Regions from separate parts of the Homo sapiens genome. Here all the other regions are linked to region 3. The links are contacts of gene promoters, found by promoter capture Hi-C in blood cells and fetal thymus (Javierre and others, 2016). All regions are on one chromosome and are shown on one strand. The core of a region is centred on a gene start or on the middle of the fragment in contact, and the rest is flanking DNA. Distances in the headings are between cores, read along the strand shown.

What was found. Contacts are between HindIII fragments. The CHiCAGO score rates a contact against its expected background, and 5 or more counts as called.
Region 1: a contact is called between the fragment with the promoter of ICAM4 here and the fragment with the promoter of KRI1 in region 3, in 10 of 17 cell types (naive B cells, megakaryocytes, total B cells and 7 more). The highest score is 9.2, in naive B cells.
Region 2: the fragment with the promoter of ZGLP1 here is called in contact with the fragment with the promoter of KRI1 in region 3 in 1 of 17 cell types (erythroblasts); the score reaches 5.9 in erythroblasts.
Region 4: a contact is called between a fragment that was not itself captured here and the fragment with the promoter of KRI1 in region 3, in 6 of 17 cell types (neutrophils, M2 macrophages, M0 macrophages and 3 more). The highest score is 11.3, in neutrophils.

What each region holds. Positions count from the first base shown.
Region 1 is chr19:10,282,164-10,288,723 of GRCh38, forward strand. ICAM4 (intercellular adhesion molecule 4 (Landsteiner-Wiener blood group)) reads left to right here and starts at 4,792. Exons shown (of 3, transcript NM_001544.5): 1 at 4,792-5,243; 2 at 5,373-5,675; 3 at 5,823-6,357. The coding sequence starts at 4,850. The coding sequence ends at 5,941. It overlaps ICAM1 (intercellular adhesion molecule 1), which reads left to right. Exons shown (of 7, transcript NM_000201.3): 3 at 1,318-1,623; 4 at 1,870-2,157; 5 at 2,240-2,494; 6 at 2,620-2,865; 7 at 2,952-4,452. The coding sequence ends at 3,124. It overlaps ICAM4-AS1 (ICAM4 antisense RNA 1), which reads right to left. Exons shown (of 1, transcript NR_186335.1): 1 at 3,638-6,560. LIMASI (lncRNA inflammatory and mucous response associated, antisense to ICAM1) reads right to left here and starts at 1,287. Exons shown (of 4, transcript XR_007067138.1): 1 at 1,158-1,287. RefSeq lists enhancers at 4,360-4,409, 4,464-5,433, 4,780-4,919. The HindIII fragment of the contact is 2,558 bases long and covers 4,437-6,560 here.
Region 2 is chr19:10,304,323-10,311,556 of GRCh38, forward strand. ZGLP1 (zinc finger GATA like protein 1) reads right to left here and starts at 5,493. Exons shown (of 5, transcript NM_001409033.1): 1 at 5,027-5,493; 2 at 3,863-4,228; 3 at 1,524-1,630; 4 at 1,068-1,161; 5 at 481-886. The coding sequence starts at 5,163. The coding sequence ends at 769. It overlaps FDX2 (ferredoxin 2), which reads right to left. Exons shown (of 5, transcript NM_001397406.1): 4 at 6,531-6,618; 5 at 5,723-6,320. The coding sequence ends at 6,164. FDX2-ZGLP1 (FDX2-ZGLP1 readthrough) reads right to left here. Exons shown (of 9, transcript NR_176052.1): 4 at 6,531-6,618; 5 at 5,027-6,320; 6 at 3,863-4,228; 7 at 1,524-1,630; 8 at 1,068-1,161; 9 at 481-886. RefSeq lists an enhancer at 540-1,739. The HindIII fragment of the contact is 20,285 bases long and covers 5,120-7,234 here.
Region 3 is chr19:10,560,325-10,567,575 of GRCh38, forward strand. KRI1 (KRI1 homolog) reads right to left here and starts at 5,686. Exons shown (of 19, transcript NM_023008.5): 1 at 5,582-5,686; 2 at 5,393-5,466; 3 at 4,605-4,710; 4 at 2,405-2,513; 5 at 1,467-1,521; 6 at 1,343-1,392; 7 at 845-941; 8 at 679-756; 9 at 1-124. The coding sequence starts at 5,675. CDKN2D (cyclin dependent kinase inhibitor 2D) reads right to left here. Exons shown (of 2, transcript NM_001800.4): 2 at 6,136-7,093. The coding sequence ends at 6,734. RefSeq lists enhancers at 4,791-5,358, 5,107-5,156, 5,359-5,926, 6,875-7,251 and a silencer at 5,427-5,956. The HindIII fragment of the contact is 9,818 bases long and covers 1-6,259 here.
Region 4 is chr19:10,851,642-10,859,077 of GRCh38, forward strand. It overlaps C19orf38 (chromosome 19 open reading frame 38), which reads left to right. Exons shown (of 7, transcript NM_001136482.3): 3 at 4,624-4,716; 4 at 6,675-6,702. Among named protein-coding and RNA genes, the nearest start is that of C19orf38, 6.9 kb to the left of the region's middle. The HindIII fragment of the contact is 2,363 bases long and covers 1,009-3,371 here.

The DNA of each region.
Region 1 (6,560 bases), core at 3,542-6,041, 280 kb before region 3:
CTCAAGTGATCCTCCTGCCTCAGCCTCCCAAGTAGCAGGGACTACAGGTGTGCACCACCACACCCAGTTAACCATTCATTCATTCATTCATTCATTTATTTTGAGATGGAGTCTCGCTCTGTCACCTAGGCTGGAGTGCAGTGGCACGATCTCAGCTCACTGCAACCTCCACCTCCCAGGTTCAAGAGATTCTCCTGCCTCAGCCTCCCGAGTAGCTGAGACTACAGGCGTGCACCACCATGCCAGACTAATTTTTGTATTTTTAATAGAGACGGGGTTTCACTCTGTTGGTCAGGCTTATCTCGAACTCCTGACTTCGTGGATCCACCCTCCTTGGCCTCCCAAAGTGCTGGGATTAAAGGCGTGAGCCACCGCGCCCTGCCAACCTTTTTTTAATTTTTCTTAGAGATGGGGGTCTCCCTATGTTGCCCAGGCTTGTCTTGAACTCCTGGCCTCAAGTGACCCTCTTGCCTTGGCCTCACAAAGTGCTAGGATTACAGCCTGAGCCATCACACCTGGCCAACAGGTTTTTTTTTTTGTTTTGTTTTGTTTTTTAAAGAATGTCTAGGCCAGGCTCATTTACTTTCACCTGTAATCCCAGCACTTTGGGAGGCCGGGGTGGGCAGATCACTTGAGGTCAGGAATTCGAGACCAGCCTGGGCAACATGCTGAAACCCCGTTTCTACTAAAAATACAAAAATTAGCTGGGTGTGGTGACACGTGCCTGTAATCCCAGCTACTCAGGAGGTTGAGGCAGGAGAATTGCTTGAACCCAGGAGGCAGAGGTTGCAGTGAGCCAAGATCATGCCATCACCCTCCAGCCTGGGCGACAGAAGGAGACTCAGTCTAAAAACTTAATTAATTAATTAATTAAAAATAAAAATACAAAAATTAACCTGGTGTGGTGGTGTGTGCCTGTAATCTAAGCTACTCAGGAGGCTGAGGCAGGAGAATCCCCTGAATCCCAGAGGCAGAGGTTGCAGTGAGCCAAGATCGAGCCACTGTTTGCCCAGTCTAGTGCACTGGGCTGCTGAATTTATTTGACCAGACACCTAGCAATAGACTTTGAAGTTCTTTTCCACTTTTCACTCTAAGATGCTGCTGTCATGAATAAGGAATATTTTGATCCCCTTCACAAACACTCGGGGCCCTCTTACCAGTTTTCACTGAAGATCTTGACATTCCTATCTGCTTAGGTGTCTGGGCGTGTTTGGGGGAGATACTGAAGAGGTAGGGCTCCCAGGCAGGTGCAGTTCGTCTGTTAGGCAGGCAGCAAGGTCCACTTCACCAGACACCCCCACCTCTGTTTTCCTGCAGGGACTCCAGAACGGGTGGAACTGGCACCCCTCCCCTCTTGGCAGCCAGTGGGCAAGAACCTTACCCTACGCTGCCAGGTGGAGGGTGGGGCACCCCGGGCCAACCTCACCGTGGTGCTGCTCCGTGGGGAGAAGGAGCTGAAACGGGAGCCAGCTGTGGGGGAGCCCGCTGAGGTCACGACCACGGTGCTGGTGAGGAGAGATCACCATGGAGCCAATTTCTCGTGCCGCACTGAACTGGACCTGCGGCCCCAAGGGCTGGAGCTGTTTGAGAACACCTCGGCCCCCTACCAGCTCCAGACCTTTGGTGAGGATTGAAGAAGCCAGCAGGGAGAAGGTGGGGGTGGGGTATCCTGCAATGCGGTGCCTGTGGCCACAGGATCTTTTGAGATGGGTGTGGCCCCGGCTAAGGGGTGCATGTGTTCTAGGCGTATGTGACCTAGGCTGCTGAGTGGCCCTGGAAGAGGATCTCGCAGGAGGGGGAATGAAATGCCCCAGAGAAGGGCTTCGGGACGTCCATCCCTGTCTGCTCACACCTTTCTTCTCTCCCTAGTCCTGCCAGCGACTCCCCCACAACTTGTCAGCCCCCGGGTCCTAGAGGTGGACACGCAGGGGACCGTGGTCTGTTCCCTGGACGGGCTGTTCCCAGTCTCGGAGGCCCAGGTCCACCTGGCACTGGGGGACCAGAGGTTGAACCCCACAGTCACCTATGGCAACGACTCCTTCTCGGCCAAGGCCTCAGTCAGTGTGACCGCAGAGGACGAGGGCACCCAGCGGCTGACGTGTGCAGTAATACTGGGGAACCAGAGCCAGGAGACACTGCAGACAGTGACCATCTACAGTAAGAAGGGGCAGGGGCGGAGTGGGGCTTCTTGGGGGTGTGACCTGAACCCGGGGCGGGGCTCACTGTGTGCCTATTCCAGGCTTTCCGGCGCCCAACGTGATTCTGACGAAGCCAGAGGTCTCAGAAGGGACCGAGGTGACAGTGAAGTGTGAGGCCCACCCTAGAGCCAAGGTGACGCTGAATGGGGTTCCAGCCCAGCCACTGGGCCCGAGGGCCCAGCTCCTGCTGAAGGCCACCCCAGAGGACAACGGGCGCAGCTTCTCCTGCTCTGCAACCCTGGAGGTGGCCGGCCAGCTTATACACAAGAACCAGACCCGGGAGCTTCGTGTCCTGTGTGAGTGGGGCTGCTGGTCAATGGCCCCTATCCCCCAAGGCCCAATCTCCCTGAAGGTCCCATAAGGTCTTGCCTCCAAGTCCTGCCCCCACCCACCTCCATGTCATCTCATCGTGTTTTTCCAGATGGCCCCCGACTGGACGAGAGGGATTGTCCGGGAAACTGGACGTGGCCAGAAAATTCCCAGCAGACTCCAATGTGCCAGGCTTGGGGGAACCCATTGCCCGAGCTCAAGTGTCTAAAGGATGGCACTTTCCCACTGCCCATCGGGGAATCAGTGACTGTCACTCGAGATCTTGAGGGCACCTACCTCTGTCGGGCCAGGAGCACTCAAGGGGAGGTCACCCGCAAGGTGACCGTGAATGTGCTCTGTGAGTGAGCCGGCGGGCAGAGCTGGGTGGGGGCAGGGGCCATGGACCTAATGCAATCCTCACCGCCTGTTGTATCCTCCCCACAGCCCCCCGGTATGAGATTGTCATCATCACTGTGGTAGCAGCCGCAGTCATAATGGGCACTGCAGGCCTCAGCACGTACCTCTATAACCGCCAGCGGAAGATCAAGAAATACAGACTACAACAGGCCCAAAAAGGGACCCCCATGAAACCGAACACACAAGCCACGCCTCCCTGAACCTATCCCGGGACAGGGCCTCTTCCTCGGCCTTCCCATATTGGTGGCAGTGGTGCCACACTGAACAGAGTGGAAGACATATGCCATGCAGCTACACCTACCGGCCCTGGGACGCCGGAGGACAGGGCATTGTCCTCAGTCAGATACAACAGCATTTGGGGCCATGGTACCTGCACACCTAAAACACTAGGCCACGCATCTGATCTGTAGTCACATGACTAAGCCAAGAGGAAGGAGCAAGACTCAAGACATGATTGATGGATGTTAAAGTCTAGCCTGATGAGAGGGGAAGTGGTGGGGGAGACATAGCCCCACCATGAGGACATACAACTGGGAAATACTGAAACTTGCTGCCTATTGGGTATGCTGAGGCCCCACAGACTTACAGAAGAAGTGGCCCTCCATAGACATGTGTAGCATCAAAACACAAAGGCCCACACTTCCTGACGGATGCCAGCTTGGGCACTGCTGTCTACTGACCCCAACCCTTGATGATATGTATTTATTCATTTGTTATTTTACCAGCTATTTATTGAGTGTCTTTTATGTAGGCTAAATGAACATAGGTCTCTGGCCTCACGGAGCTCCCAGTCCTAATCACATTCAAGGTCACCAGGTACAGTTGTACAGGTTGTACACTGCAGGAGAGTGCCTGGCAAAAAGATCAAATGGGGCTGGGACTTCTCATTGGCCAACCTGCCTTTCCCCAGAAGGAGTGATTTTTCTATCGGCACAAAAGCACTATATGGACTGGTAATGGTTACAGGTTCAGAGATTACCCAGTGAGGCCTTATTCCTCCCTTCCCCCCAAAACTGACACCTTTGTTAGCCACCTCCCCACCCACATACATTTCTGCCAGTGTTCACAATGACACTCAGCGGTCATGTCTGGACATGAGTGCCCAGGGAATATGCCCAAGCTATGCCTTGTCCTCTTGTCCTGTTTGCATTTCACTGGGAGCTTGCACTATGCAGCTCCAGTTTCCTGCAGTGATCAGGGTCCTGCAAGCAGTGGGGAAGGGGGCCAAGGTATTGGAGGACTCCCTCCCAGCTTTGGAAGCCTCATCCGCGTGTGTGTGTGTGTGTATGTGTAGACAAGCTCTCGCTCTGTCACCCAGGCTGGAGTGCAGTGGTGCAATCATGGTTCACTGCAGTCTTGACCTTTTGGGCTCAAGTGATCCTCCCACCTCAGCCTCCTGAGTAGCTGGGACCATAGGCTCACAACACCACACCTGGCAAATTTGATTTTTTTTTTTTTTCCAGAGACGGGGTCTCGCAACATTGCCCAGACTTCCTTTGTGTTAGTTAATAAAGCTTTCTCAACTGCCTCAGCCTTGTGTGAGTTGAGGGGAGGTGTCACATCCAGCTGGAGTCCTTTCTAAGCAGCCACAGCCTGATCCTCCCACTTCCTCCCCCAAGAAAACATTGTGGGTTGATGGCCATACCCTGAGGTTCTGGTCCAAATCGGACTTTCTATGACCTTCTGGGTCTCTAGTGAAAACTAAAGACTCCTCTCCAGAAAAAAACATTTGGTTTCTAATGAGGCCTGGAATCTTATTCTTGACCTGGGGAGCGGAATCCCTTTTTGCAGTACTCCCGGGCCCTCTGTTGGGGCCTCCCCTTCCTCTCCAGGGTGGAGTCGAGGAGGCGGGGCTGCGGGCCTCCTTATCTCTAGAGCCGGCCCTGGCTCTCTGGCGCGGGGCCCCTTAGTCCGGGCTTTTTGCCATGGGGTCTCTGTTCCCTCTGTCGCTGCTGTTTTTTTTGGCGGCCGCCTACCCGGGAGTTGGGAGCGCGCTGGGACGCCGGACTAAGCGGGCGCAAAGCCCCAAGGGTAGCCCTCTCGCGCCCTCCGGGACCTCAGTGCCCTTCTGGGTGCGCATGAGCCCGGAGTTCGTGGCTGTGCAGCCGGGGAAGTCAGTGCAGCTCAATTGCAGCAACAGCTGTCCCCAGCCGCAGAATTCCAGCCTCCGCACCCCGCTGCGGCAAGGCAAGACGCTCAGAGGGCCGGGTTGGGTGTCTTACCAGCTGCTCGACGTGAGGGCCTGGAGCTCCCTCGCGCACTGCCTCGTGACCTGCGCAGGAAAAACACGCTGGGCCACCTCCAGGATCACCGCCTACAGTGAGGGACAGGGGCTCGGTCCCGGCTGGGGTGAGGGGAGGGGGCTGGAAGAGGTGGGGGAAGGGTAGTTGACAGTCGCTCTATAGGGAGCGCCCGCGGACCTCACTCAGAGGCTCCCCCTTGCCTTAGAACCGCCCCACAGCGTGATTTTGGAGCCTCCGGTCTTAAAGGGCAGGAAATACACTTTGCGCTGCCACGTGACGCAGGTGTTCCCGGTGGGCTACTTGGTGGTGACCCTGAGGCATGGAAGCCGGGTCATCTATTCCGAAAGCCTGGAGCGCTTCACCGGCCTGGATCTGGCCAACGTGACCTTGACCTACGAGTTTGCTGCTGGACCCCGCGACTTCTGGCAGCCCGTGATCTGCCACGCGCGCCTCAATCTCGACGGCCTGGTGGTCCGCAACAGCTCGGCACCCATTACACTGATGCTCGGTGAGGCACCCCTGTAACCCTGGGGACTAGGAGGAAGGGGGCAGAGAGAGTTATGACCCCGAGAGGGCGCACAGACCAAGCGTGAGCTCCACGCGGGTCGACAGACCTCCCTGTGTTCCGTTCCTAATTCTCGCCTTCTGCTCCCAGCTTGGAGCCCCGCGCCCACAGCTTTGGCCTCCGGTTCCATCGCTGCCCTTGTAGGGATCCTCCTCACTGTGGGCGCTGCGTACCTATGCAAGTGCCTAGCTATGAAGTCCCAGGCGTAAAGGGGGATGTTCTATGCCGGCTGAGCGAGAAAAAGAGGAATATGAAACAATCTGGGGAAATGGCCATACATGGTGGCTGACGCCTGTAATCCCAGCACTTTGGGAGGCCGAGGCAGGAGAATCGCTTGAGCCCAGGAGTTCGAGACCAGCCTGGACAACATAGTGAGACCCCGTCTATGCAAAAAATACACAAATTAGCCTGGTGTGGTGGCCCGCACCTGTGGTCCCAGCTACCCGGGAGGCTGAGTTGGGAGGATCCTTTGAGCCCTGAAAGTCGAGGTTGCAGTGAGCCTTGATCGTGCCACTGCACTCCAGCCTGGGGGACAGAGCACGACCCTGTCTCCAAAAATAAAATAAAAATAAAAATAAATATTGGCGGGGGAACCCTCTGGAATCAATAAAGGCTTCCTTAACCAGCCTCTGTCCTGTGACCTAAGGGTCCGCATTACTGCCCTTCTTCGGAGGAACTGGTTTGTTTTTGTTGTTGTTGTTGTTTTTGCGATCACTTTCTCCAAGTTCCTTGTCTCCCTGAGGGCACCTGAGGTTTCCTCACTCAGGGCCCACCTGGGGTCCCGAAGCCCCAGACTCTGTGTATCCCCAGCGGGTGTCACAGAAACCT
Region 2 (7,234 bases), core at 4,243-6,742, 260 kb before region 3:
AGGCTGGTCTCGATCTCCTGACCTCAGGTGATCCACCTGCATCAGCCTCCCAAAGTGCTGGGATTACAGAAATGAGCCACTGTGCCTGGCTAGACATGTGTCTTTTTTTTTCCCTTCTGTATATAACAGGGTCTCACTATGTTGCCCAGGCTGGTCTCAAACTCGTGGCCTCAAGCAATCCTCCTGCCTCAGCCTCCCAAAGTGTTGGGATTACAGGCGTGAGCCACTGCACCCGGCTTGTGTGTGTCTTTCTGTATCTGTTGTGTGTGTCTGTGGGTAGTGGCTGTTTCCCTGCATGGGACATTGTGGTAAATGTGGCTAATTCCCTGTGTGGGGGCTGCTGCCTGTGGATAAGACTGTGTCTCTGTGCATGCGCACGTGTGTGCACGCCCCTCACAACCCCAACGAGAAAACACCTGTCCACCTTCCTGGGCTGGCACAGGGGCACAGGAGGCGGGATCCCAAATCACAGGCTTTTTCTCTCGGCATATCTCTGTACTTTATTGTCCCTGCTGTAACAATGCTCATCCTTCCTGAGAGCGTCTCCTGAGGGGGCCTCGGCCAAGGCTGACTGGAGAAGGGGCTGGTGACCCCTAGCAGGCTCTGCCACCTGAGGCCTGGGTCTTCCCCCGGGATCCTTGAATCTGGAGATGGCAGAGAGGAGGCAGGCCGGCTCTTTCCCCAATCCTCCTAGGAGAGCTGCTTCTGCCCATTCTCCCACTGGTGAAACGGAGGCAGAAGCAGCAGCTCAGCAGGGTGAAGCTGGGTTTAACCTTCCTGAATGGGGTCCAGGGACACTCCACATCTGCCACATAGCCTCTTGGGCTGGACATTTTTCCTGGGCACCAGCCAGCAGCTGGAGCAGCGAGTGCCGTATTTCTTGTACCTAGGGTTGGGGGACAAGAAACTGCCATTTAGGATGCAGTGGGGGCCCGGAAACCGCCACAAGGAAACCACTTTTCCCAAGAGGTAGGTGTTTTGCTTTTTGCTTTCCCCACAGGCCATCCTGGTTACACGTGGACTGATTTGGGGACCCCCGCCCCAACTCCCTCCTCCATTCTAAGGACCTGATCCCACAGGCGTTGCAGAGAGGGGTCCCATCTTCAGCGTCTCTCCAGAGCGGGGTCCTCTGGGTCCGACAGGAAGCACAGCGCCGGGGCTCTGAAGGGTCAGAGGTCAAAGGGCAGGGGTCAGAGGCCAAGCATGTGAGCTCGGGATGCCTGTGCGGAGTCGGGCATTTTGTGGGGGTCTCAGTAAAGGCCCCACCTAGCTCTGGATCAGCCCTGGGAGTTGCCAGCTCTAAGCCACAGCAAAGCCAGGAAGGGAGACAGATGGCAGCATTCCGCAGAGGAGGAAGCTGGGGGTGGGGGTGACTCAGCCCAAGTGGAGGGGGGTGCTGCGACTCCTCCCTGAGGGCTCTAAATGGGGAAGCAAGATGGAGAAGGGGGGGGCAGGGAGAAAGGCAGGGAAGACAGGAAATTGGCCCCCAAAATATTTATAGCTCTTGGGTTTTCAGGACTCACCCAGGGCCTCGCTGCCTGCTGAGTGGGCCTCGGTGCCTCCTGGGTGGGCTGCAGGGCCCCCAACAGCATCTGCAGGGGATTCCTGAGAACGGCTACTGCAGGGCAGGCTGTGGGGCAGACAAGGTATTAGCACTGGGGGGGATCTGTAGCTTGTCCCCAACAGCCCTCCGAAATGAAGATTTAGTATCAAGGTATCAGCCATCCCCCGAGGAGGCAACTAATATCTGAATGGCCTGGCTTTGCCTCTCATTAGTAATATTATTATTATTATTATTATTATTTTTGCAGATGGAGTCTCGCTCTGTTGCCCAGGCTGGAGTGTAGTGGTGTCATCTCAGCTCACTACAACCTCCACCTCCCGGGTTCAAGCAATTCTTGAGCCTCAGCCTCCCAAGCAGCTGGGACTACAGGCGCGCGACACCACGCCCAGCTAATTTTTGTATTTTTAGTACAGACGGGGTTTCACCATGTTGGCCAGGCTGGTCTCGAACTCCTGACCTCAAGTGATCCACCCACCTCGGCCTCCCAAAGTGCAGGGATTACAGGCATGAGCTACCGTGCCCGACCTAATTATTATTATTATTATTTGAAAAATAGTAAGCACAGGGACAGCCTGCCAGGTTCCAATCCCAGTTCTCCATGTCCTTGCTGTGTGAGCCTGGACACATTATCTCCTACTCTGTGCCTCAGTTTCCTCATCTGTAAAATGGGCTTCCCAATACAACAGTTTTTTTTTCTTTGAAAATTTGATTTATTGATTTTTAAAAAGAGATGGGAGTCTGGGCAATATAGGGAGACCCCGTCTCTACAAACAAAAAAAATAGCCAGGAGTGGTGGTACAGGCCTGCACTCCCAGCTAGTTGGGAGGCTGAGGAGGGAGGATGGCTTGGGCCTGGGAGGTCCAGGCTGCAGTGAGCCATGATTGCGCCACTGCACTCCACCCTGGGTGACAGAGCAAGACCCTGTCTCAAAAACAAACAAACAAACAAAAGCAAAAAAAAGCAGCCAGGCATGGTGGCGGCTCACTCCTGTAATCCCAACACTTTGGGAGGGCAAGGCAGATGGATCACCTGAGGTCAAGAGATCGAGACCATCCCGGCCAACATGGCAAAACCCCATCTCTACTAAAAATACAAAAATTAGCCAGGCGTGGTAGCAGGCACCTGTAATCCCAGCTACTCCAGAGGCTGAGGCAGGAGAATCGTTTGAATCCGGGAGGCAGAGGTTGCAGTGAGCCGAGATTGTGTCATTGCACTCCAGCCTGAACGACAGAGTGCAACTCCATCTCAAAAAAAAAAAAAAATATTGTTTTGGCGGCATGATTAAAAAAGTCATAATTATAATTTTTATAATAACAATAAATAGGTAAAAATTAGAGCTGGGGGTCATACTATGTTGCCCAGGCTGGTCTTGAACTCCTGGGCTCATGCAATCCTCCCACCTTGGCCTCCCAAAGTGCTGGGATTACAGGTGTGAGCCACCAGGCCCAGCTTCCCAAAGCTTTTTTTTTTTTTTTTTTAAGGGGATGGAGTCTTGCTCTGTCACCCAGGCTGGAGTGCAGTGGTGCCATCTCTGCTCAGTGCAACCTCCACCTCCTGGGTTCAAGCGATTCTCCTGCCTCAGCCTCCCAAGTAGCTGGGATTACAGGTGCCCATTACCATTCCCAGCTAGTTTTTTTTTTTTTTTTGAGACTGAGTCCCACTCTGTGGCTCAGGCTGGAGTGAGGTGGCGCTATCTCTGCTTACTGAAGACTTCACCTCCTGAGTTCAAGCGATTCTCCTGCCTCAGCCTCCTGAGCAGCTGGGATTACAGGCACCCACTACAACGCCCAGCTAATTTTTTGTATTTTTAGTAGACATGGGGTTTCACTATGTTGGCCAGGCTGATCTCAAACTCCTGACTTCAGGTGATCTGCTCGCCTTGGCCTCCCAAAGTGATGGGATTATAGGCGTGAGCCACTGTGCCCGGCCTCCCCAGGCTTTTGAATGAGCCCATACACATAAAATACTGCCTGTTAACCTCTTATTGTTGTCACTACCAACAAATAGTAGCTGTTAGCATTATTGGGAAAAATCACCGCAGCCGCAGCTGCAGCCTAAGCAAGGCCAGGCCTGATTCCTAAAGAGACCAGGTCTCACATTGGGAGTGGGGAGCCACTGAGTCAGGAGCGGCAGGACTGTATCTGGCACCAGCTCAAGTTGTCAACCAGAGACTGGGCCACGTGTAACGTAGAGCACAGGTGAGGGTCCACACCGACGCCAGAGAGCACCCCTACCTCCCACACTGGTGTTTGCGTTGTAACTGGGAGAAAGGGCGGCCTGGCCCCAGCCGGCCCCTACCTGTACGTGGGGATGATCTGCAGGCTGGAGTCCGGCTTTATCTGAAACTTCAGAGTCACCCCCTCGAACCCAGGGTCCACTCTCTCGGTGCCCCGGCAGGGGTTCAGCTGTTTCCGGGGCCTTCTCTGGGGTGGGGCCGAGGGAGTCCCCGGGGGCTGCAGACGGCGGCCCTTTTGGCTGATCCTGGTCTGTGTGTCCTTGGAATCCCTGTCCAGCAGCAGGCGGCCCTGAGTCCCCAGAGCCATCGGGTCCCAGCAAGGCCCCAGGACCGGGGTGTCCTGGGCAGGGGACTGACCCAGCCTCTCCACTGTCTCTTGGAGGAAGCACAGGGCGGTGACCGACTCCTGGCATGCAGGCCAGAGGGACCTGGGGAGAAGGGCAGTGGGGTCACGTTTTCTTGGGTGACTCCTGGGTTTAGCCGGCCAGGGGGTTCCAACTTGGGCCGGCTCTTTGTGTACCCTTGGACAGGCTACACACCCCACCTGAGGTTCAGTCATTTCTAACTCTGGGTGGAAGGTTTAAGAGTTGCAGTAATTGCAACTCACCTCGCCCACTGTGGGCCTCCCAGGCACGCCCAGCCCTCCACATCAATCAACCCCTTACGGCACCCGTAGATCACCCAGGCAGGGACCGCCCTAGGTGACCGAGGCAGGATATCAAGCCTCTGGCTGCAGGATCGAGAAAAAGGTTACTTTTTTTCTTTGTGTTTCTTTTAGAGACCGAGCCTCACTCTGTACCCCCGCCTGGAGTGCAGGGGCGTGATCAGGACTCAGTGCAGCCTAGAACTCCTGGGCTCGACCGATCCTTCCGCCTCAGCCTCCCGAGTAGCTGGGACTTACAGGCACGCGCCACCACGCCGCTGGCTTGCCATAATATGATTACGATTTTTATCATTTTCATTATTATTGAGTTGCCCTCCATAACCCCTGGATGATCCCTGGGGAGTGCCTACATCAGCCCCAGAGACATGGAATTGCATGGCCTCTGATCCCTAGATGACCCCAAGTGTCTCTGGGCACCAGAACCTCTTTGTAAGTTTCAGTAACTATTATAAAATTGCCACTTCTCGATAACCCCAGCAAAGAGAGGTCATGACCCCTTGATCACTGAGCCAGGTGGTGAAGTGCTAGCGGGGTCCGGGGAATGGGGTTTGGCCTTACGCACCTCTCACTGATTCTGCAGCATCCTGGGGTCCTCGGCTTCTCCTGGGAGGGGGATCCTCCCAGCCGCTCCAGGTTCAGACAGGGCGGCGCCAGAAGCTTTGCTGGCATTGAGGAGTCCGGGATTGGCTCGGCCTCCATTGCGCCCCAGCCCAGCCCCCTCCCTAATTTCACCCGGCCCTGTCCCGCTGGGCCCACCCGATGAAACCCACCTGGGAGGGGCGGGACCTGTGTGGTGGGAGCGCTCTTGGTAGAGGATGCGATGAGCCCCAGCTGAGAGCGACCAGCCTCGGCGGCACCTTTCCTCTTTCTGGCTTTTTTCAGGTCATCCGCGCACCCCTGCGTGGCAAGGGCGGCCTGGACCCCACCAAATCCCTCCGCAGCTGCCGGGGCGGGGCCTTCCACGCTAGCCCTCCCCCTCGGAAATGGGGGCTCCCAGGCCTCTGCCTTGGATCCCCAGCGGCATCTTAGATCCCAGAGGGAAAAGAGAACCGGGGGCCCAGCACAGCAGATGCAGGTGTGGTTTGTTTTTGTTTTTGTTTTTTTTTTTTTTGAGACAGGGCCTCACTCTGTCACCCAGGCTGGAGTGGAATGGCCTGATCACCGCTCCACTGCAGCCTAAATCCCCTGGGCTCAAGTGATCCTCCCACCTCAGTCTCCCGAGTAGCTGGGACTACAGGCACTTACCACCACTCCACGCTAATTTTTACTGTTTTTATAGAGACGAGGTCTCGCCATGTTGCCCAGGATGGTCTTAAGCTCCTGGCCTCAAGTGATCCTCCCATCTTGGCTTCCCAAAGTGCTAGGATTACAGGTGTGAGCCACCTGTAGACCCCAGATCTGTCCCCCAAGGACACTCAACATGCTGGGGCCTGTGTTATCGATTTATTGCAGCTCCAATATGAGTCCACTCCTACTCAAACCCTGATTCTCAGGGGCCTGGGGAAGGCCACCCCACTAGGGGCCCTGTCCCCACCAGAGCCTGGACATGGGACTCTCTCCCAAGCAGGGGTGTTGTCCTTCACAGGGGCTTCCACGTCTCTCCCGGGCCTGTCCGCACTCTGGGCAGGGCTGGCACCTGGCTATTCCCTCAATCTGGGCCCTGGGGCCATGGCAATGTGGAATGGTCCAGGTGTTCATGTCAGTGGGGCTTGGGGACATGGCCATCCACGTAGAAGTTCCTGGTGATCTTGGGCAGGGTGAATTCCGCTCCTTCCAGCTCCGGTGTCAGCACAATCTGGCAGCCCAGCCGCGAGTTCTCCTGGAGGAGGGGGGCCATGTCTAGCATGTCGTCTTCCCTAGGGTGGTGACACGGGCAGTGTTAGCCGAGGGCAAGCTAGCTGGGTGGGTGGGGGGCCAGAGGTGGGGGAGGGAGGAAGCTGACTGAGCGCAGGGGGTAGTGGTGGGGGAGGCAGCTCCCATTCCAGGAACTGGAAGTGGGGAGGATGGTGGGGGCTGCTGAATGCTCCAGGGTGAAGCTGCCAGCTAGACAGGGCTGACCCACTCACCTCTCCTCGGGAGGAGGCAGGAGATCCAGGTGGTCTTCACTCACATACACATGGCAGGTGGAGCAGGCCAGGGAGGCTTCACAGGCCCCTAGGGGTGGGAAGTGAAGGGGGCGCAGGTGAGTGGCAGAGTCAGGAAGGGGCTGCTATGCGAATGGCGTAGAGGAGTAGACCTCTCTTCCACCACGTGCCTCACGTCTCCCTCCTGGGCCTGCAGCTCCACTGTGTGTACCAGGCACTGTGTCATGTCCTCAATGTCCTCAGCTAGCTGTTCCCCAGTGTGTAGGGTTTACAAACGGACATCTGGGAGGCCCCATTTCCCAGGGACTCCCTAGCAGGCTGAGATGCAGAACCATTAAGGAGCAGGGACTTGGCTGCCAGGTAGCTGAGAGGGGAAAGGCCAGGCAGGCTCCCCGCAGTCTGTGAGCCCTTGCTGTGACCCTATCACTGTGCTGGGCTAATGTGTCCCCACCTCTCCACTGCTCTTGGAGGATGGACCGGCTGACTCAGCAGTCAGTGTGGTGGGGGAAGGAATCAGGCATTAGGATTTTGTTTTTTTTTTTTTTGAGATGGAGTCTTGTTCTGTTGCCCAGGCTGGAGTGCAGTGGCACGATCTCGGCTCACTGCAAGCTCTGCCTCCCGGGTTCACGCCATTCTCCTGCCTCAGCCTCCCAAGTAGCTGGGACTACAGGTGCCTGCCACCACGC
Region 3 (7,251 bases), core at 4,436-6,935:
CCATTTCCTCTTCATCTTCCTCCTCCTCTTCCTCCTCCTCATAGCGTTTGTTGAGGATGTAATCCCGCAGGAACCGCTCCCCTTCATCCAACTCAGGGTCGTTCCAGTATTCCTTGAGATGCGTCTGGGGGTGACAGGAGACAGGACTCTGGTCAATGGAGGACAGGGAAGGAGGGCAGGCATGCTCACCACATGGACCTCACAGCCAGCCTCTGGAGTAGGTGACATTAGCCCCATTTTGGTTTCTTATTTTTATTTCGAGACAGGGTCTTACTCTGCCATCCAGGTGACAGTACAGTCGTGTGATCATAGCTCACTGCAGACCCAACCTCCCGGGCTCACAAGATCCTCCCACCTTAGCCTCCCAAGTATTTGAGACTACAGGTGCATGCCACCATGCCTGGCTAATTTTTTCATTTTTTTGTAGAGCCATTTTGCTATGTTGCCCAGGCCAGTCTCAAACTCCTGGCCTCAAGCAATCCTCCTGCCTTGACCACCCAAAGCACTGGGATTACAGGTGTGAACCACGGCACCCAGCCTATCCCCATTTAAAGAGATGTAGGAGCTGAGGCCCAGAGATGTACATATCCCATCTTCAGAGGGTTACTTTCTGTAAATAGGTTGGATGGACGCGGAACACGCGGTCTACTCCATCAGCGACCATGCGTGAGAACTCACCAGTTCCTTCAGGGAATCTGGGTTCCGAATCTCTTTCTGTCCCTTCAGCCACTCGATGTAGTCGGCCTCCTCCTGGGCCTGGGGGAAAGCTAGCACTGAGCATCCGCAGATGCCCAGCCACCCGCCACCCTGTCCCCCAGCAGTCCAGTCAGGCCCCAGTACCCACCTTCTCCTGCCTGGTTTTGGCACGTTTCTGCAGCAAACTGGAGCCGCCCTCCCCAGCGCCGTCCTCGTCCTCACTGTCCTCCACAAATGCCCGGAAGCTGCCCACGAGAGAAAACAAGCCTCAGGACAGGCAGGCTGGCCCCTGTCTGCTGCCCCAGTATTTATTTTATTTTGTAGAGCTGGGGTCTCACTATGTTGCCCAGGCTGATCTTGAACTCCTGGGCTCAAGTGATCCTCCCTCCTCTGCCCACCAAAGCCCTGAGATTACAGGCATGAGCCACCTCACCTGGCTGGCTGCCCCAAGATTAACCCCATTTACTAAGCCCTGAGCTCTCCTCTCAACAAGCTCAGAGCAGTGCTGTGATGTTATTAACCCCGTTTAACTGATGAGGAAACTGAAGCACATAGAAAGTGACAGAGCTCAATTTGAACCCGTGCCTATCCAACCCCCGAGCCTCAACTTTCCTCCATTGGGCCATTCCCGCCCACCCAGCCTCACCTTTCCTTGAGCTGTTTCTGTTCCTCCACATAACTTTGCGACGATGTCTCCTGCAGAGAGGGCCATAGGTCTCAGGCCAGCCCCAGGCCCCTCAGCCCCCCGACCCAGCCTTCACCCCACCCACCTGGAGTCTGTGATTGGAAGTCTCCCCGTCTGAGTTCTCCTCATCAACATATTTGCTGTAAAGGAAAAGTGGGGTCTTCAGAATATATCTTCCAGGGCCCGCCTGTCCCCATGCCCATGCGGAGCAGCTATTCCAAGCAACAGCTGGCGGGGGTCATCGGAGGGCTATGGAATCACTGAGACTCCTGCTCTCAGGGCTATCTGCGATTCTGGTGAGTTTCCAGCGTTTTTTTTTTTTTTTTCTTTTCCAATCATGGGTGACAGCATTTCTTTTTTGGAGCCAGGGTCTCGCTCTATCCCTCAGGCTGGAGGGCAGTGGCATGATCTCGGAAAACTGCAACCTCCACCTCCCAGATTCAAGCGATTCTCCTGCCTCAGCCTCCCCACGTAGCTGGGACTACAGGCGCCCACCACCACATCTGGCTAATTTTTGTATTTTTAGTAGAGACGGGGTTTCACCATGTTGGCCAGGGTGGTCTCAAACTCTTGACCTCAGGTGATCTGCCCGCCTCAGCCTCCCAAGGTGCTGGTATTACAGGCATGAGCCACCATGCCCGGCCTTTTTTCTTTTTGAGACAGGGTCTTATTCTGTTGCCCAGGCTGGAGTGCAGTGGCCTGATCATAGCTCACTGCAGCCTCCATCTCCTGGCTCAATCCTCCTGCCTCAGCCTCCTGAGTAGCTGGGACTACAGGTACACATCATCATGCCCAGCTAATTTTTAATTTTTTTGTAGAGGCGGGGTATGTTGCCCAGCCTGGTCTCAAACTTCTGTCCTCAAGCGATCCTATTGCCTCAGCCTACCAAAGTGCTGGGATTATGGGCATGAGCCACCATGCCCGGCCCAGGCTGCCAGCTTTTTTCCCTCTCCTGCCCCTAAGACCCCCATAGACCTGACAGGGCTGGGAACCAGGGGGTGGGGATGTAGGCCTTCTCCATACCCTGCCTTCTCCAAGATAACCTTCCTCTCGTAGTCCTTCAGGTACATGGGCCGCACTTTCTTCTGCTTCTCCAAGGCTTCTGGGTCCTCCTCACTGTCTGATGACGATGCTGTTAACCCACCAAAGACACCTGCCATCACCCACAACCCCCTTCTTTGCCGTGGCAGAGAATCCCACAGGGCAGGGCCAGGGTTAGACAGAGGATTCAAATCCCAAATCCACCAATTCCCAGCTGTCCAAGAGTATTGTGCTTGTCACCATCTGGTGGGGTTGGGGTCATTCAGTCAGTAATTCCTGCTTTGATTATTATTATTGTTGTTATTATTTATTTACTTATTTTTTTTTGAGGTGGAGTCTCATTCTGTTGCCCAGGCTGGAGTGCAATGGCATGATCTCGGCTCACTGCAACCTCTGCCTCCCGGGTTCAAGCTGTTCTCATGTCTCAGCCTCCCAAGCAGCTGGGATTACAGGTGCCCACCACCGCGCCCGGCTAATTTTTATATTTTTAGTAGAGATGGGGTTTCTCCATGTTGGTCAGGTTGGTCTCGAACTCCTGACCTCAGGTGATTTGCCTGCATCGGCCTCCCAAAGTGCTGAGATTACAGGCGTGAGCCACCGCACCCGGCCATTATTATTATTTTTTTGAGACAGAGTCTCACTCCGTTGCCCAGTGCATGGCGTGACTTGGCTTACTGCAACCTCCGCCTCCCAGGTTCAAGCGATTCCCCTGCCTCAGCCTCCTGAGTAGCTGGGATTACGGGTGTGCACCACCACGCCCAGCTAATTTTTGTTATTTTTAGTAGAGATGGGGTTTCACCATGTTGGCCAGGCTGGTCTCGAACTCCTGACCTCAAGTGATCCTCCCGCCTCAACCTCCCAAAGTGCTAGGATTACAGGCATGAGCCACCATGCCCAGCCTGATTAATTATTATAATTAATTTTTTTGAGAGTTGGAGTCTTACTCTTGCTCAGGCTGGAGTGCAGTGTCAACATCCTAGCCCACAGCTCACTGCAGCCTTGAACTCATGGGCTTAAGCAATCCTCCCACTTCAGCCTCCCAAATACCTGGGACTATAAGCGCACACCAGCATGCTCAGCTGAGTTCTGAATCTTTTGTAGAGATGGGGTCTTGCCGCCAGGCACAGTGGCTCACGCCTGTAATCCTAGCACTTTGGGAGGCCAAGGCGGATGGATTACCTGAGGTCAGGAGTTCGAGACCAGCCTGGCTAACATGGTGAAACCCCATCTCTACTAAAAATAACAAAAAAATAGCTGGGCGTGGTGGCACGCACCTGTAATCCCAGCTACTCCGGAGGCTGAGGCAGGAGAATCGGTTGAACCGGGGAGGCGGAGGTTGCAGTGAGCCCAGATCATGCCATTGCACTCCAGCTTGGGCAACAAGAGCAAAACTCCGTCTCAAAAAAAAAAAAAGAAAAAAGAAAGAAAGGCTGGCTGGGCGCAGTGGCTCACGCCTGTAATCCCAGCACTTTGGGAGGCCAGGGTGGGCGGATCACCTGAAGTTGGGAGTTCGAGACCAGCCTGGCCAACATGGAGAAACCCTGTCTCTACTAAAAATCCCAAATTAGCTGGGCGTGGTGGCGCGTGCCTGTAATTCCAGCTACTCAGGAGGCTGAGGCAGGAGAATCGCTTGAACCTGGGAGACGGAGGTTGCAGTGAGCTGAGATCGTCCCATTGCAACCCAGCCTGGGCAACAAGAGTGAAACTCCATTTCAAAAAAAAAAAAAGAGAAATGGGGTCTTGCTATGTTGGCCAAACTGGTCTCAAACTCCTGGCCTCAATTGACCCTCCCACCTCAGCCTCCCAAAGTGCTGGGATTAGATGCTTGAACCACCTGCCCAGCCTGGTGGAGTTGGAATCATTCAGTCAGCAATTCCCACCTTGAATAGTGCCAAGGACACAGTCATTAACTCCACCACCAGGTAATAACCTAGGCTCTGCTAAGGACTTGTGACTTGTGAAGCAATTCATTCAATAGTCAAAACAGATGAACTGTGTAAACTGGGTAAATCCCAATCTATCCTTAAAACAGCCCTGAGGGGAGATGCTACCGTTAGATATACTTTACAGACAGGAAAAGAGGCTCAGAGAAGTCAAGTCACTTCTCTGAATCCACAGTCAGGAAAGGACCCCGGATTCTGCTCCAGAGGAAGGAGAGGTTTAGACAGGAGTGGCCCCGGACCTGTTCTGTTATAGAAGGTGGCATCTTTCTGATAAATGCGGGGGTCCTTCTTCTTCAACAAGGAGAGCGTTTTGTAAAAGTCCCGCTCCTGCTGGGGATCAAATTCCTAGGGCAGGAAAAGGGTTGGGGATAGATTTCAGAAGGGAGATAATAAGAGCCCTGGCGCCAGCAGGTGAGCTCAGCGTAGGGATTAGGATGGAGGGGGGTGGATCTGGCTGGGGAGGTCAAACAGGTGGTCAAACAGCAGGAGGGAGAGGGGCCCTCTTGGGGTGGGCAGGGGCAGGCCACAGGTAGGTACAGGATATGGGTAGAGGAAGGTGAGGGGCAAGGAGAAGGTAATTCCTGGGGAAGACAAAGACTTGACAAGGGGCAGGTGGGCTGAGGGCACAAGAGAGACAGCGGGGAGGGGCTGGGCCAGGCCGCACAGTGGGGCCAGGATCAGGGCTGATGTGAGAAGTTGGGCGCCCCACGTGGCGCAAGGAGTACACTAAAAAATGGCTAGACTCTTGAGGATGAAAGAGGAAAGGGGGGGTTCTTGGGGGACAGAGTCGCCCCACACATCAGAGTGGGCAGGTGGGGATCGTGGCAGGGGAGAGAAAATAACGGGGATTTGGCTCCCCTGGGGAGAGGGGGGGCACTGTCTGTCCCTCATGGGATGGGGAGCGGAGGATGGGACGCTCCCGCAGGGCGCTCTGGGGTTGGGGGTTCCCCCCCGTCTACATCGGGGTCGGGGTGCAGAGGGGGGCTTGGACGCCTCCGCACGTCCAGGACGGGGCGGGGACGCGCACCACGCGCTCGTCGCTTGAGTCCGACTCGGAGCTGGAGTCGCTGCTGCTGTCTCGGTCCCCGTAGCGATCCTTCACTGCGGGACACAGACGGGATGCCCCCCCCCAGGTCAGCCGGCGGGGCCACTCGACTCCCCACTTCCCAACCGGCCGGCGCGCGCAGGCTCCCGCGCGCATGCGCCCCGCACTCACGCCGCTGCAGTTCCTCGCGCTCCCGGTAGCGGTTGTACCGCGCGGCAAACGCCGCGTTCACCCGCAGCTGCGACGACCCGCGCGGTTCCGGCATGGCGGTTCTGTGGCCCATTGCGCACGCGCATTGAGGAAGCCCTGGACGGGGCGGGGCCGCCCTCAGTCCCGCCCGCATCCACTTGTAAACGAGGCGTACCGCTGCTAACCCCGCCCCTGGCTTTTCCGGGATCCCTTTCGCCTCATCACCGCAGTCACCGCCCACGGCTACGCCCCTGCGGGGAAGGCCGCGGCCACCGCCCACCCGCCCCACCCCCTGTGCTCCGGGCACCCAGCTGACATCTGGGGGCCCTTTCTCCACTCGCGGTTTCCTGCTTCCCTTCCGTTCCGACAGCGAAAACCGCTGCCCCACCCAGCTCACTCACCCTGGCGCCCTGGGAATTACTATTCTCTCCCCTCACCCACCACATCCACGATCCGCGACCCCCGTCCTCATCCCCATCAACATCCGGGATGTGTAACTCTCCATCCCAGACTCAAAAATCAGAAGCCACCCGTGCTGTGATCATGCACAAGTCTTAATTTAATGGGTAAAAACATTAAATTATTACAACATTTTTTCCAATAAAGCATAATAAATAGAATCCATTTCTTTTAAAACGCTGTACAAGAGACTGGAAAACAAGCTTCCAACAGAATATGAATAACTCATAACTCATTCTACCTTCTTATTGATTTGGGACGCTCCCCCCACCCCCCATGCCTGAAGCAACGTGCACACTTCAGGTCTCTGAGCACAGCCGGCCAAGGCCACCAGCTTCTAGGCTCCCTGGAGGTCATGACTTCACTCTTAAATGCTCTGCCCTTGGGTCTCGTCTGAGGCCCCAGCAGCCTGAGGCGCAGAAGAAACTGAACCGTTTAGGTGGCTGTGGCCTGCAGGAGCCCTTCTCTGTCCAACACACCAAAAGGAGTGAGAAAAACAAATGAGAAACGTCCCCCAAACACTCACACCCCCAAAACCAACACCTATAAGCCACAAACTGTGCTCCTCCCCTACTGCAGCAGTGGGCAGGAGAAACAAGAAGAGAAAGTGTTTCTTCCCCTCTCTTCTGATACATAACCCCACGGGGTTCTCTTGCTGGAGAGGGTGACCCCAGATCACAGCGGGGCCACCATGTGGCCCTGCAGGATGTCCACGAGGTCCTGAGCCCCTCTCTGCAGTGCCAGCTCCAAGGGTGTGAGACCCCTGGCGTCCCTGCGATGGAGATCAGATTCAGCTGCCAGAAAGCTGACCACAGCAGTGTGACCCTCTTGAACTGCCAGATGGATTGGAAGTGCCCCGGTGCCATCAGGCACGTTGACATCAGCCCCGTGCTCCACTAGGACCTTCAGGGTGTCCAGGAATCCAGTGCGGGCTGCGTCATGGACTGGACTGGTACCGGAGGTGTCCTGGACATTGGGGCTGGCACCTTGCTTCAGCAGCTCCAGGGCGATGGCGGTGCTGCCAAACATCATGACCTGTGTGAGGGACAGAGGATCAGGAGGTCCTCAAGGGAGGAGGTTCCACAAAAGGGGTCACTGGAAAGAGAAGGGTCATCCAGAAAGAGGCATCTCCCAGAAACAGGAAATGCTAGAGGAGGGGTCCTCTAGTGAACGGAGAAGCTGCATAAGCCCCC
Region 4 (7,436 bases), core at 940-3,439, 290 kb after region 3:
GGCCAACATGGTGAAACCCTATGTCTATTAAAAATACAAAAAATAGGCTGGGCGTGGTGGCTCACGCCTGTAATCCCAGCACTTTGGGAGGCCGAGGCGGGTGGATCATGAGGTCAGGAGATTGAGACCATCCTGGCTAACAAGGTGAAACCCCGTCTCTACTAAAAATACAAAAAATTAGCCGGGCGCGGTGGCGGGCACCTGTAGTCCCAGCTACTCGGGAGGCTGAGGCAGGAGAATGGCGTGAACCCGGGAAGCAGAGCTTGCAGTGAGCCGAGATTGCGCCACTGCAGTCCGCAGTCCGGCCTGGGCGACAGAGCGAGACTCCGTCTCAAAAAAAAAAAAAAAAAAAATACAAAAAATAGCTGGGTGTGGTGGCATGCGTGTGTAATCCCAGCTACTCAGGAGGCTGAGGCAGGAGGATCATTTGAATCTGGGAGGCGGAGGTTACAGTGAGCCAAGACAGTGCCATTGCACTCCAGCATGGGTGACAGAGCAAGATTCTGTCTCAAAAAAAAAAAAGATATTGACCAGGCTAGTCTTGAACTCTTAACCTCAAGTGATCCTCCCACCTCGGCCTCCAGAGTAGCTGGGATTACAGATGTGAGTCACCATGCCCAGCATGAGCCACATAAGGTTTCTGAGCACTTACTATGGACCAAGAACTGTCTTTGGGCTTGCCCAAAGACATTCCAGGCTGACATTCCAGGCGGATGAGGACAGATGATAAACATGAAATCCAATATATATTCAACCTGCCAGCAGGGCACCAGATGAAATCCACCTGGGTGAGGATGTCATTATTTGAAGTAGAGTAGGGCGACTGGCCCCATGTTCTAATGGTCAGCCCTCTGGACTCTGAAGTAGAGTAGGGCAATCAGGGAAGCCCTCTCTGAGGAGGTGGCATTTGAGCAAAAAACTGAATGATGAGGAGGAGCCAATCATGTGGATATCCAGGGCATGTGTTGCAGGCAGAGGATACAGGATGTGCAAAGGCCCCGAGGCTGAAGCTTCCCTGGTGTGTCTGAGGAGCCCAGTATGGCTGAAGGATGGTGAACAAGGAGGAAAATGGGGAGAGGCGGGGCAGGGAGTTCACCAGGAGGATCGTGGGGGGTCTTGTAGACCACAGCAAGGATTCGATCTTTTCACCTGAGTGAGGGAACCCTGGCAGGGCTGATGTCCTTTTCTGATCTCTGAATGAGGAGGCTGGACATGGGTTATGGGTCAAGAAGCAGGAGGGAGGAGCCTTTGGTGGCCTTCTGTGTTACCATCAGTCAGAACTTTCCTGGCCGGGTGCAATGACCCACGCCTATAAGCCCAGGACTTTGGGAGGCTGAGGCAGGACGATTCCTTGAGCCAAGGAGTTCAAGATCAGCCTGGGCAACATAGTGAGACCCTGTCTCTACAAAAAAAAAAAAAAATTATTTTATTTTTTTTTTAGATAGGGGTCTTGCTTTGTTGACCAGGCTAGAGTGCAGTGGCGCAATCACAGCTCACTGCAGCCTCCACTTCCTGGGCTCAATCAATCTTCCCTTCTCAGTCTCCCTAGCAGCTGGGACTACAGCCGTGCACCACCACGCCTGGCTAATATGTCTATTTTTTGTAAAGACAGGGACTCACTCTGTCGCCCAGGCTGGAGTGCAGTGGTGTGACCCCAGCTCACTGCAATCTCTACCTCCGAGGTTCAAGCAATTCTCCTGCCTCAGCCTCTCGAGTCTCACTGCAACCTCTACCTCCGAGGTTCAAGCAATTCTCCTGCCTCAGCCTCCCGAGTAGCTGGGATTACAGGCGTGCACCACCATGCCCAGCTACTTTTTGAGTTTTAGTAGAGATGGGGTTTCACAATGCTGGCCAGGCTGCTCTCAAACTCCTGACCTCAGGTGTTCTGCCTGCCTCGGCCTCACAAAGTGCTGGAATTACAGGCGTGAGCCACCATGCCCAGCTCCCCCCAATTTTTTTTTTTTTTTTGAGACAGTCTCGGTCTGTCGCCCAGGCTGGAGTACAGTGGCACGATCTCGGCTCACTGCAACCTCTGCCTCCCGGGTTCAAGCGATTCTCCTGCCTCAGAGCCTCCCGAGTAGCTGGGACTACAGGCATGTGCCACCATGCCCAGCTAATTTTTTGTATTTTTTTTTTTAGTAAGAAGGGGTTTCACAGTGTTAGCCAGGATGATCTCAATCTCCTGATCTTGTGATCCGCCCACCTCAGCCTCCCAAAGTGCTGAGATTACAGGCGTGAGCTACCCCGTCCGGCTAATGTTTTTTTTTTTTTTTTTTTAATTAGGAGGGACTGCTGGCATGTGTCAGTAGGCTGAGGCAGGTGGATCACTTAAGCCGGGGAGGTAGAGGATATAGTGAGCCATGATCGCACCACTGCATTCCAGCCTGGGTGACAGAGGGAGACCCTGTCTGTAAAAACTTTTTTTTTTTTTTAATTTTTGAGACAGAGTCTCACTCTGTCGCCCAGGCTGAAGTGCAGTGGCCCAATCTCGGCTCACTGCAACCTTTGCCTCCCAGGCTCAAGCGATTCTCGTGCCTCAGCCTCCCGAGTAGCTGGGACTACAGGCGCCAACCACCACACCCTGCTAATTTTTGTATTTTTTAGTAGAGATGGGGTTTCACCATGTTGGCCAGGGTGGTCTTCAACTCCTGACCTCAAGTGATCCGCCCACATCGGCCTCCCAAAGTGCTGGGATTACAGCCATGAGCCACCGCGCCTGGCCCAAAAAAACTTTTAAAAAGAACTTTTTCACTGCAAAAAATAATCTTGTTGCCAGCCGAGGCCAACATGCAGCTATGACAGGGCAGTTCTCTGTCCTTCCCGGCCTCAGGCTCCTCTATCAAAGGCCCCCTTCTCTCACCTTGGCCTTGTGGCCTTGGAGTAGGGAGCTGACAACACCCCTTCTGCCCCAGGTGAATCAATGAACAAGGCTGACATTGTGAGAATACCAAGCGTCTGTCTTCTTCCCTCTTCTGGCTTAGCTCCTCACCTCCCTTGGGGTCAGGGCATCTCCTCTTTCTCCAGGAAGGGGAAGCGAAGTCTTGTGCTGAGAAGGTGACTCTGGAACTGCCACTCCCATGCCTGTGTGACTAGCTTCTGGGTGGATCTCAGGGTCTACCGTTGGGCTGGGGGTGGATGTCATCTGGCCACTGGCACCCAGACTGCAAGTAATAAAAACCTGACTCACACTGGCTCTACCAGCAAGAGGGGATTTGTTGGTTCACTGAGCTGAAGTCAGTTTACATGGCTGACTTCAGATATGGCTGGATCCAGGTGCTGAAAAATGACAGAAAGCATTTGCCTTCTCAGCTCCTCTTCTGTCTTATTCTCAGGTAGTTTCTCCCCCTCATGGAGGCAAGATTGTGCCCTGAAGCTTCAGATATATATTCTTTTTTTTTTTTTTTTTTTTTTTTTGAGACAGATTCTAGCTGTGTCACCCAGACTGGAAGGCAATGGCCCAATCTCGGCTCACTGCAACCTCCACCTTTTGGGTTCAATCGATTCTCCTGCCTCAGCGTCCCAAGTAGCTGGGATTACAGGCACGTAACACCTGGCTAATTTTTGTATTTTTAGTAGAGACGAGGTTTCACTATGTTGGCCAGGTTGATCTCGAACTCCTGACCTCAGGTGATCCACCCACCTCAGTCTCCCAAAGGGCTGGGATTACAGGCGTGAGCCACCGTGCCCAGCCATCTCTTTTTTTGTTTGTTTCTTCAGATGGGGTCTCTCTGTGTCACCCAGGCTGGAGTGCAGTAGCACGATCTCAGCTCAGTGCACCCTCCACTTCCCGGGTTCAAACTATTCTTGTGCCTCAGCCTCTGAAGTAGCTGGAATTACAGGTGTGCACCACACCTGGCTAATTATTTGTGGGGTTTTGTTGTTTTTTGTTTTGTTTGTTTCTTTTTGAGACAGAGTCTTGCTCTGTCACCCAGGCTGGAGTTCAGTGGCGCCATCTCAGCTCACTGCAACCTCCGCCTCCCGGGTTCAAGTGATTCTCCTGCCTCAGCCTCCTGAGTAAGTGGGACTACAGGCACGTGCCAGCACGCCTGGCTAATTTTTTGTATTTTTAGTAGAGACGGGGTTTCACAGTGTTAGCCAGGATGGTCTCGATCTACTGACCTAGTGATCCACCTGCCTTGGCCTCCCAAAGTGTGGGGATTACAGGCGTGAGCCACTGCGCCTGGCCAATTATTTATATTTTTAATATAGACAGAATTTCCCTGTGTTGGCTAGGCTGGTCTTGAGCCCCTGGCCTCAAGTAATCCACCTGCCTCAGCCTCCCAAAGTGTTGGGATTACAGGCATGAATCACCGCACCTGGCCTAAGATATCTATCCTATGCAATGCTAGCCAGAGGAGTAAACCTCTTTTCCCAGTGGTACCACCAAAGTCCCAGAGTTAGCTCTCATTGGCTCCACTTGGGTTACATGCTCATCCTGAACCAATCACAATAGCCAGGAGCGGGGGATAGGCTAATTGGCCAGACACAAAGTTTGCTAAGTCTCTTGGGTCCAGCTGCATTCATGTTCTTTGGTTGGGGGTTATGGGGTAAGGGCTGGCTACTCAAAGGTAACCTGGAGAGACGACACTGACCTGCCCACTCTCTTTTCTGATTTTCCTCCAGTGCCCACTTGGATCTTGGTGCTCTCCCTGAGCCTGGCTGGTGCCCTCTTCCTCCTTGCTGGGCTGGTGGCTGTTGCCCTGGTGGTCAGAAAAGGTAACAGCACGCAAAGCCTGGCACACAAGTTGCCAGTTGACAACTTCTGGAACGTGAAGATGTGCTTACACTCACAACTCACACCATTTTGTTTTCAGGTTCAGTAATTTGTTCATCACACCCCTTTTAAAAGTATTTATTTATTTATTTATTATTTTTCTTTTCAGACAGAGGCTCGCTCTGTCGCCCAGGCTGGAGTGCAGTGGCACGATCTCGGCCCACTGCAACCTCCGCCTTCGAGGTTCAAGCAATTCTCCTGCCTCAGCCTCTCAAGTAGCTGGGATTACAGGCGTGCACCACCATGCCTCGCCAATATTTGTATTTTTAGAAGAGATGTGGTTTTGCCATGTTGCCCAAGCTGGTCTGGAACTCCTGACCTCAGGTGATCCGCCCACCTCGGCCTCCCAAAGTGCTGGGATTATAGGCATGAGCCACAGTCCCCGGCCTAAAAATTTTTTATTTGGAGACTCAGTCTGTCACCCAGGCTGGAGTGCAATGGCAGGATCATAGCTCGCTGCATCCTTGACCTCCTGGGCTCAAGCAGTTCTCCTGCCTCAGCCTCCCAAGTAGCTGGGACCACAGGTGCGTGCCACCACATGCAGCTAATTATTTATTTATTTTTTTTAGGACAGGGTCTTGCTGTGTTGCCCAGGCTGGGTAACTCCTGGGCTCAAGCAATCCTCCCACCTCAGCCTCCCAAAAGTCCTGGGACCACAGGCACACACTACCACACCTGGCTAATTTTTAAAAAATATTTTTTGTTGAGATAGGGTCTTGCTATATTGCCCAGGCTGGTCTTGAACTCCTGGGTTCAAGTGATCTTCCTGCCTCAGCCTCCCAAAATGCTGGAATTACAGGCATGTGCCACCATGCCCAGCCAAATTATGTGTGTTTGTGTGTGTGTGTATGTGTGTGGGTATATATGTGTGTGTATGTATATATATATGTGTGTATATATATACATACACACACACACACATACATATATATATATATATATATATATATATTTTTTTTTTTTTTTTTTTAAGATGGAGTCTTGCCCTGTCACCCAGGCTGGAGTGCAGTGAGGCGATCTCGACTCACTTGCTCTGTTGCCAGCCTGGAGTGCAGTGGCACAATCTCGACTCAGTGCAACCTCCGCCTCCCAGGTTAAAGTGATTCTCCTGCCTCAGCCTCCCGAGTAGCTGGGACTACAGGTGCGTGCCACCACACCCAGCTAACTTTTGTATTTTTAGTGGAGACAGGGTTTCACCATGTTGTCCAGGATGGCCCAGCACTTTGGGAGGCCGAGGTGGGCAGATCGCGAGGTCAGGAGTTTGAGACCAGCCTGGGCAATATGGTGAAACCCCATCTCTAATGAAAACACAAAAATTAGCCGGGCGTGGTGGTGTGCACCTGTAGTCCCAGCTACATGGGAGGGTGAGGCAGAAGAATCGCTTGAACCTGGGAGGCAGAGGTTGCAGTGAGTCAAGATCATACCACTGCACTCCAGCCTGGGCGACAGAACGAGACTCTGTCTCAAAAAACAACAAAAAAAGAAAGAAAGAAAGAAAGAAAGAAAGAAAGAAAGAAAAATCTGAGGCCTTCCAGGCTGGGTGGGGTGGCTTGCCTGTAATCCCAGCACTTTGAAAGGCCGAGGCAAGTGGATCACTTGAGGTCAGGAGTTCGAGACCAGTCTGGCCAACATGACGAACCCTCTTCTCTACTAAAATACAAAAATAGCCTGGCCTGGTGATGCACACTTGTAATCCCAGCTACTCGAGAGGCTGAGGCAGGAGAATTGCTTAAATCCAGGAGGCAGAGGTTGCAGTGAGCCAAGATTGAGCCACTGCACTCCAGCCTGGGTGAAAGAATGAGACTCTGTCTAAAAAAAAAAAAAAAAAAAAAAAAAACAGAAATTGCCGGATACAATTAGGACCAAAATCTAACACATGCTCATTTCTTTTTTGTTCCAGTTAAACTCAGAAATTTACAGAAGAAAAGGTGAGATCATCCCTGGAGACCCACAGAGGGTGGTTTGGGGAAAGAAGGACACTTCCCTGGCAGGGTGGGCACTCCATGCCCCCCACAAACAGCGCCTCCTGGTGGGCATGCTGCGTAATAGGAACAGGAGCCATTTATTAAGTGCCTCCTGTGTGCTGGAGGACTGAGCTGGGACTCTCTGAAGCTGGAGCTCCTTATCCTTATGGCAGCCCTGGAAACAGGCACCATGAATAGCCCTATTTTACAGAAGAGAGGACTGAGGCTCAGCACTCAGTCACAGAGTGAGCAGTTTGCCCAGGGAGAGGCCCTTCCCCACACCCCTTTACCTCCAGCTGCCAGAAAACGGTCACAATCACTCTAGACACCCACAGTCAGTTTCTAAAGAATGCCCCTGGGGTTGTGCAGTGCCCAATTGCACTGTAGGTGATGGCCCAGGTTCCTGGGCACCAGGATGTCCTAACTGGCCCTGGCCTCAGTTTCTCTCCTCCGAGAGTGGGGAGACATCCTGCTGCCTGGAGATGAAAACCTGCTCTGGGGATTGAATCCCAGCTTCACCTGGCTGTGGGCCTCCTAACCAGGAGAATATATATATGTTTTTTTTTTTTTTTTTGAGATGGAGTTTCACTCTTGTTGCCCAGGCTGGAGTGCAATGGCCTGATCTCTGGCTCACCGCAACCTCTGCCTCCTGCGTTCAAGCAGTTCTCCTGCCTCAGCCTCCTGAGCAGCTGGGATTA